2 separate regions of the Homo sapiens genome follow, and region 1 is linked to region 2. Evidence: promoter capture Hi-C in human tissues and cell types (Jung and others, 2019). All regions are on one chromosome and are shown on one strand. The core of a region is centred on a gene start or on the middle of the fragment in contact, and the rest is flanking DNA. Distances in the headings are between cores, read along the strand shown. Region 1 overlaps TNFRSF13B (TNF receptor superfamily member 13B). Region 2 holds the start of FLCN (folliculin).

What was found. Contacts are between HindIII fragments. The study calls those that stand out against the background at their distance.
Region 1: a fragment that was not itself captured here is called in contact with the fragment with the promoter of FLCN in region 2 in 1 of the 25 tissues and cell types used here (mesenchymal stem cells).

Annotation. Positions count from the first base shown.
Region 1 is chr17:16,957,830-16,961,802 of GRCh38, forward strand. The region is part of intron 1 of TNFRSF13B (TNF receptor superfamily member 13B); the gene reads right to left. Among named protein-coding and RNA genes, the nearest start is that of TNFRSF13B, 12 kb to the right of the region's middle. The HindIII fragment of the contact is 3,635 bases long and covers 440-3,973 here.
Region 2 is chr17:17,234,696-17,239,230 of GRCh38, forward strand. It overlaps FLCN (folliculin), which reads right to left and starts at 2,473. Exons shown (of 14, transcript NM_144997.7): 1 at 2,217-2,473. RefSeq lists an enhancer at 2,690-2,799 and a silencer at 3,234-3,419. The HindIII fragment of the contact is 7,502 bases long and covers 1-4,535 here.

The DNA of each region.
Region 1 (3,973 bases), core at 1,007-3,506, 280 kb before region 2:
ACTTGCCCTACAAGAAATCCTAAAGTGAGTCTTTCATGCTGAAATAAAAGTACTCTAGACGGTACCTTGAAGACATAAGAAAAAGTGAAGTAAATATAAAGGTAACTAAATAAGTAACTATAAAAGCCAGAATTATTTTACATTTTGCATGGTTTGTAACTCCTATTTTTTTTCTATATGATTTAATAGGCAATGAGTTAAACAGTGATTGCAAACCTATGTTAGTGGTCATAGAGTGTACAAAGATGCAGTATGTGATAATCACAATATAAAGGGAAAGGCAGGGACATACAGGAGCAAAGCTCTTATGACCTACCGAAACTAAGTTGATATTATTCAAACTAGGACGTCATAAGTTTAAGATATTAATTGTAATCCCCAAGAAAATAACTAAAATATGTATAGAAAAAGAAAGAAAAAGGGACTCAAAGTGGCCCACTACAAAAAAAATGAACAAAATACAAAAATGAAGTAATTGAAGAAACAAAAACATGTAAGACATACATAAAACAAATATATAAATGGCTGAAGTAAATCTTTATCAGTGATCATATTAAATGTAAATGAACTAAACTCTGCTAGTAAAAAAAAAAATTGGCAGATTGGATTTAAAAACCCACAGGCTTCATGTATATTCAGTGTATAAGAGACTTACTTTAGATTAAAAAAAAATACAAAGCCAGAATTATTTTACTTTTTGCGTGGTTTGTAACTCCAATTTTTTCCTATATGATTTAATAGGCAATGAGTAAAATAGTGGTAAAATAGAAGTTGAAAGTAAAAGAATGGAAAAGGTATTTTATGCAAATAGAAAGCAAAAGAGAGCTGGGGCAGCTATACTGTTGTCAGACAAAGCAGACTTTAAATCACAAAAAAATTACAAAAGACAAAGAAGGACAATATATATTAATAAAGGGGATACAGCATAAAGATGTAACAATTATAAATGTATACACACCTAATGACAGGGTTCCAAAATATATGAAACAAAAATTGACAGAGTTGAAGGGAGTAATAGATAGTCCTACACTAATATTGGGATATTTCAGTACCTCACTTTCAATAATAAGACAGAACTACCAGACACATAAATAAGAAAATAGAGGACATCAAGAACACTATAAACCAATTAGACATCACAGACATATAGACAACGCTCAATGCAACAACAGCAGAATACACATTCTTTTCAAGTGCACATGGAACATTCTCCAGGATAGACCTTATGTTCAGCCACAAAACAAGGCTAAACTTTAAAATTTTTTAATTTTTTAAAATTAAAATTATTCAAAGTTTCTTTTCTGATCATAGTGGTATAAAACTACAGATCAATAACAGAAGGAAAATTGGAAAATTCACAAATATGTGTAAATTAAACAACACGCTCTTCAACAACAAATTGGTCGAAGAAGAAATGACAGGGGAAATTATAAAATATCTTGAGACAAATGAAAATGAAAATACAACATACCAAAAGTTATGAAATACAACAAAAGCAATGCAAAGAGGGAAATTCATGTAAATACATACACTGAAAAAGAAGAATCATAACCTGATCATAACTAAATCATAACCTAATTATATACCTTGAGGAAATAAAAATAGAACAAACCAAATCCAAAAATAGCAGAAGGAAAGAAATAATGAATACTAGAGCAGAGATCAATAACACAGAGAATGAAAAAACAATAGAGAAAATCAACAAAACCAAAAGCTCCTCTTTGAAAAGATCAACAAAATTGACAAACCTTTAGGTAGACTGACTATGAAAAAGAGAGATGACTCATATTATTAAAATCAGAAATGACATTAAGAACTTTATTACTTATTTTACAGAAATAAAAAGGATTATAAAAGAATACTATAAACAATGGTACACCAACAAATTGGATAACCTAGATAAAAATGGACATATTCTTAGAAATACACAATCTACCAAAACTGATGAATGAACAGAAAATTTGAATACTCCTATAACGAGATTGAATCAGTAATCAGAAACCTACCAGTGACAAGCTCAGGACAAGACTGCTTTACTAGTGAATTCTACCAAAACATTTAAAAAAGAATGAACACCAATTCTTCTGAAACTCTTCCCAAAAACCAAAGAGAAAAGAACACTTCCTAACTCATTCATGAAGTCAGCATTACACTAATACAAAATTACAATAAAGATGTCACAAGGAGAGAAAATTACACACGAATATGTCTTATGTATACAAATTGAACCCAATGGCACATGAAAAGTTTATTCACCATAACCAAGTGGGATTTATTTTTGGAGTGCAATGGTAGTTCCACACTAAAGGAATGAATAATAAAACTTAGTGGTCTTCTCAATTGATGCAGAAAAAGCACTTGACTAAATCCAACTTTTTTTAATGATAAAAACACTTGAGAAGCTAGGAATAGAAAGTAACTTTCCTATCATGATAAAGGCCATATTTGAGATCCCACATTCTCAATGGTGAAAGTGAAAGCTTTGCCCTAAGATCAGAACAAGGCCAGGATACACACATTTGCCACTTCTTTTCAACATAGCACCAGGAGAACTAGCCAGAGCACTTAGACAAGAAAAAGAAATAGAAGTATCCACAGTGGAAAGGAGAGCATAAGATTATCTCTGTTCACAGATAACCCGATCTTATATGTAGAAAACCCTAACAATTCCATTCAATGGGGAAAAGGACAGTCTCTTCCATAAATGATGCTGAAAAAATTGGATATTCACATGCAAGAGAATGAAATTGAATGCTTACCTAATGCCACATACAAAAATTAACTCAAAATGGACTAAGTGCTAAAACTATAAAACTTTTGGAAGAAAACATAGGGGAAAATCTCCATGCACTAAATTTGACAATGATATCTTGGATACAGCACCAAAGGCATAGGCAATGAAAGGAAAAAATTAGATAAATTGGACTTCATCAAAATTTAAAACTTTTGTGCACCAAAGGACACTATTGAGAGAGTGAAAAGACAACTCACAGAATGGGAGAAAATATCTTCAAATCATATACCTAATATGGGGTTAATATCCAGAATATATAAAGAACTCCTAAAACTCAACAACAAAAAACCAAACAACTCAAGTCAAAACTGAGCAAAAGGCTTGAATCAGCATTTCTCCAAATAAAACATTCAAGTGGTCAACAAGCACAAGAAAAGATGCTCAACATCATTAGTCATTAGGGAAATGCAAATTAAAACCACAATGAGATATCATTTCACACCCATTAGGATGGCTATTATTAAAAATGGAAAATAAGCAGCGTTAGAGATCTGAAGCAAGTGGATGTGAAGGCACTGCTCATGGGAATGTATAACAGAGCAACAGCTGTGGAAAAGTCTGGCAGATCCTCAAAAAGACAAACATAAAACTACCACAAGACCCAGTAATTCCACTCCTAAGCAAACATCCAAAAGAACTGAAACAGGGATGTGAACAGATACTTGTGCCCCAACATTCAGAACAGCATATTCACAACAGCCAAAGGTGGAAACAGCCCAATCGTTTATCAGCACATGAATGGACAAAGAAAATATGTTACAGGTACACAGGATACTATGATGTTATTAAAATGAATGGAATACTTATACATGCTACAATGTGGATAAACTTTGAAGATATTATGCTAAGTGAAATAAGACAGTCATAGAGAGACAAATATTGTACAATTTCCCTTACCTGAGGGAAGTAGAAGAGGCAAATTCACAGAGTTAGAGAGTAAAATAGAGGTTAGCACAGGCAGCCGTTATTGATTAATGGGGTACAGAATTTCTTTCTGGGGCCATAAAAAAGTTTTGGATATAGATAGTGGTGCTTGTGCATGTACGTAATGCCACTTCATTGAATATGTCATGATGATTAAAATGATAAAAGTTTCATTATATATATTTTACCAGCAAAAAGTGGAAGTAGAAAGCAGAAAGTAAGCAGAAAATGGAGCAATGCCTTAAAGTTTAGGAT
Region 2 (4,535 bases), core at 1,223-3,722:
TGCCGGGTGTGGTGGCTCATGCTTGTAATCCCAGCACTTTGGGAGGCCGAGGCAGGCGGACCACGAGGTCAGGAGTTCGAGACCAGCCTGGCCAACATATTGAAACCCCATCTCTACTAAAAATACAAAAATTAGGCTGGGTGCGGTGGCTCACGCCTGTAATCCCAGCACTTTGGGAGGCCGAGGTGGGCAGATCACGAGGTCAGGAGATTGAGACCATCCTGGCTAACACAGTGAAACCCCGTCTCTACTAAAAAATACAAAAAATTAGCTGGGCATGGTGGCGGGGGCCTGTAGCCCCAGCTACTGGGGAGGCCGAGGGAGGAGAATGGCGTGAACCCAGGAGGCACAGCTTGCAGTGAGCTGATCGCACCACTGCACTCCAGCCTGGGCCACAGAGCAAGACTCCATTTCAAAAAAAAAAAAAAAAAAAAAGCCAGGCATGGTGGTGGTGCATGCCTGTAATCCCAGCTACTGGGGAATCTGAGGCAGGAGAATTGCTTGAACCTGGGAGACGGAGGTTGCAGTGAGCTGAGATCGCACCATTGCACTCCAGCCTGGGCAATAAGAGTAAAACTCCATTTCAAAAAATACAAAATACGAAAATTAGCCAGGCCTGGTGGCACGTGCCTGTAGTGCCAGCTACTCAGGAGGCTGAGGCAGGAGAATCGTTTGAGCCTGGAAGCGGAGGTGGCAGTGAGCCGAGATCGCATCACTGCACTCCAGCCTGGGCGACAGAATGAGATTCTGTCTCCAAAAAAGAAAGAAAGAAAGAAAGAAAGCAAAAGCACTTGTCAGACGAGAGCTCTGACTCTGACTCCATGGATCATGTGCACCAGAGGCCCAGGCAGCCCCTGAAAGAGAGGGAGGTGCCCTACAGAGCACTTAGCTTTGCGGTCACCGGAGCCTGCCCTCACCAGCCAGGTGACACCAAGTGTTACTAGACCTCTCTGAATACCACCCAAAAGCTGAGAAACAGAGGCCTCTCAGAATTCGCATTACACATGGAATCAGAATTCTGGGCAGCGTGAGGTCATTCTTCACTCACTGTTCAATTCCAATCTCTACCAGGTGTTTGCTGAAGAAAACAAACTGGTTTGAGTGTGTCTCACGAGTCTGTTTCCAACAAGCTTTCCAGAACCCACATAGGAAGCCGAAATGCCCTGGCTGACAGTCTCTTCATCAACATATCCAAAGACAGTATTCAAATTCCCTGATGTGGTAGAGTGTCTGTTCATGTCCCCCTCCCACAATGGCTGAGTCCCAGACCTGGACAGTGACCTCACCACCACCCGTGGTGCGCCCTGGCCCTATTTCAACCCTACTTCCTATGGTGTTCTCATAGCACCGTGGAGAATTAAAGAGGCCACTAAGTAAGGGCACTCTAAATAAACAAAGCACTATAACGGATCTTAACCAGCAGTGGACACACAGCTTCTATAACTAGTCTCCCACTGGGGAGCCTCATTAAGTTAGCAGCTGGGATCCCAACAAGCCCAGGGTGAAAAGTTCTGCAGGGGATGACTGCCAGTTCAGATCCACTCTCACTGTGGCTCTATTTCCACCGTTTCCCTGGATTTCCATTCACAGAGCTCCCTGACATAGGACACTAGAAGGGCAAACGCAGTGTCACCTGCCACTATTACTCAATTACTTGATGACCACGGTGATAATCTGGCACTAAACTGGCTGTGGCCAAAGGCTAGAGAGCCAGAACCTACTTCCAGCAAGCTCCTCCTTGCCCTGTGTCCCCACTTGAAGAGACTGCTAGTGACCACACCTTGGACTTCAATCCACAAGCCAATCCATTCTTTCCAGGAGACAAGGACGCGACTGACAGTACTCTCAACTGGAGAGAAGCGCGGTCTTCCACCCTCCCTGGAGGACACGGTGCTACCCTATTAGCGCATCAGAGGACCCTCCTGAACGCCAAACTGGGAGAAGAGGATGACACACACCCTCTCCTCCAAACAGAGCGAAGACAAAACCTGGGAGAAGGGAAGGCAAACAGTCCCGTTTCATGGCAACATCAAATGAGATCACAGTCCTCATCCCCATAGACTTGGTTAATGGGCGTGCCCCCAACCTATCTTCAAATCTCAGGGTCTCGGCGACGCCCTGGACTCTGGCCCTAAACCCTCCCCCATTACTCGTCCACCTGGGACCAACGAAAACTCGGACATGCCCCTCCGCCAACCCCTCAGACCCCCGCCTACCTGCTCCCCAAATCGAGGCCCGCGGGACACCTGGACTCGGCAGCCGGGGTCCCGCTCTGGGTCCCAGCCCCGCCCCTGACTGCGCTGGGTAGGTGGTCGCTGCGGGACCCGGACCGGCGGAATCACACCCAGAGCCCCCAAGCCCACGGCAGGGATGTCACCCGGGGTGGCGAGGCTCTCAAGCCCGGGTTCAGGCTCTCAGGGGAGCTGGCAGAACCAGGAGCGACCACACTCACTCGCGGTCCCGCAGCCCCGCCGACACCCAGGCGCGTGACTCCCTGAGCCGTACCACCACCCAACACTGCGGTGGGGGTGCGGGAGCCGTCCGAGCGCGTCCTGCACCGCGAGGAGAGCCGGGCCTCCCTAGCTCTCGCAAGCCCAGGAACACAGTCCGAGTCCTACAACTCCGAGGTCTGACTGGGAAGCAGGGGCCGCTGCCCGACAATTACCCTTTTCCACCGCCCCTATTCCGGTGCCCCCCTCTGGGAAGTTCCGAATGGTTCAGACCGCACCAGCTGGGGATGCTGGGGGAAACCATTTCATTAAGCGCGGGAGTATGCTGAAACTTAAAAATCATTTTAAAAAGAGATTTGAGGGTAAATATAGCCAACCTAAGGCTTCCTGTCCACATAAAAGAGAAAAATAAAGAAAAAACGTTATAAGAGGTTGGCAGGCTTTTTTTTTTTGCTTCACCAATGGTTTTTATTAAATTGCTGATGGAACCCGTCCTCTCCCTACATTGAGAGTATGGAAGGTGCGGGAGACGGCCGTCACGTGACGCGGAGAAGGCGCGGCGCCCGTGGGAGGTTGGTTGCAGAACTCGGAACCGCTGTGCGCGCGCATGTGTGGGATTCGGTCTTCCTCCCTCAGTGGGTCTTTTTTAAAAATGTGAAAATCAGTTTTTGAATAATATTCTTTTTTTGAGACAGAGTTTCGCTTTCGCTCTTGTTGCCCAGGCTGGAGTCCAGTGGCGCGACCTCGCCTTACTGCAACCTCCGCTTCCCGGGTTCAAGCGATTCTCCTGCCTCAGCCTCCCGAGTAGCTGGGGACTACAGGCGTCCGCCACCACGCCTGGCTAATTTTTTGTATTTTTGCAGAGACGGGTTTTCACCCTTTTGGCCAGGCTGGTCTTGAACTCCTAACCTCAGGTGATCCACCAGCCTCGGCCTCCCAAAGTGCTGGGATTACAGGCGTGAGCCACCGCGCCCGGCCTGAATAATATTTTTTAAAACTAGAGCGCCCATTACTAAATTTAGCTACTTAGAAGTTAATTGTAAAGCCATTAGTTTGTGATGTAGTGTGGGTCCTTCCAGTGAAGACCGGAGAGAGATGGGAATCAGAGCCTGACCCGCCTGTGCGCGCTGCCCCCTGAGGTGTGGCTGCCCCCTGAGGTGTGGCCGCCCCGGAGCCTTCCGCCGCGGCCGAGGCTATGGTTGCCGCAGAGTCTCCAGAATGTGCTCACCAGGAATAGAATAGAAAAGTGGGTGGTTGTGTTTTTGAAATCAGAAGTCACTTATTTTTTTCTCTTTAAATTTCCATGTTCTGGTCGGGCGCGGTGGCTCACGCCTATAATATCCCAACACTTTGGGAGGCCGAGGTGGGCGGATTACGAGGTAAAGAGATGGAGACCATCCTGGCCAACAGGTGAAACCCCCTCTCTACTAAGAATACAAAAAAAATTAGCTGGGCGTGGTGGCACACGCCTGTAGTCCCAGCTACTCTGGTGGCTGAGGCAGGAGAATTGCTTAAACCCGGGAGGCAGAGGTTGCAGTGAGCTGAGATCGTGCCACTGCACTCCAGCCTGGCACAGAGCGAGACTCCATCTAAAAAAAAAAAAAAAAATCCATGGTCTGTTGAAAACGGGACACGAGAAAAGAACGAAAGTGCAGCTTGTGTTTTCTGCCGTCTTATAGTGGCTTGGTAAAGATTAAGGAATATGGGGTGGCGTTACGAGGTTAGGCATTGCCTTTATGTGTTTAATTATTCTTATCAAGCGAATTCCTCTTGCTGTTGGACAGCGCAAACTTAATTTCTGAGGAGGTAGTAAGTTACAGGGTGATTTTATTTTATTTTATTTTAGAGACGGAGTCTTGCTATGTCTCCCAGGCTGGAGTGCAGTGGCGCGATCTCGGCTCACTGCTACCTCCACCTCCCGGGTTCAAGTTCTTGAAACTAATGTTTGTTAATGAGATTTTTAAGTCAAGAACAAGGTTTTTTTCACCTTGTAACTTTAATTCCAGGAATTACCTTTTTCAGTTTGTTAGTGGAGTTCACCACCTTGCTCAGATTATCCTTATTTCCATGGTGATAGGCTAATGG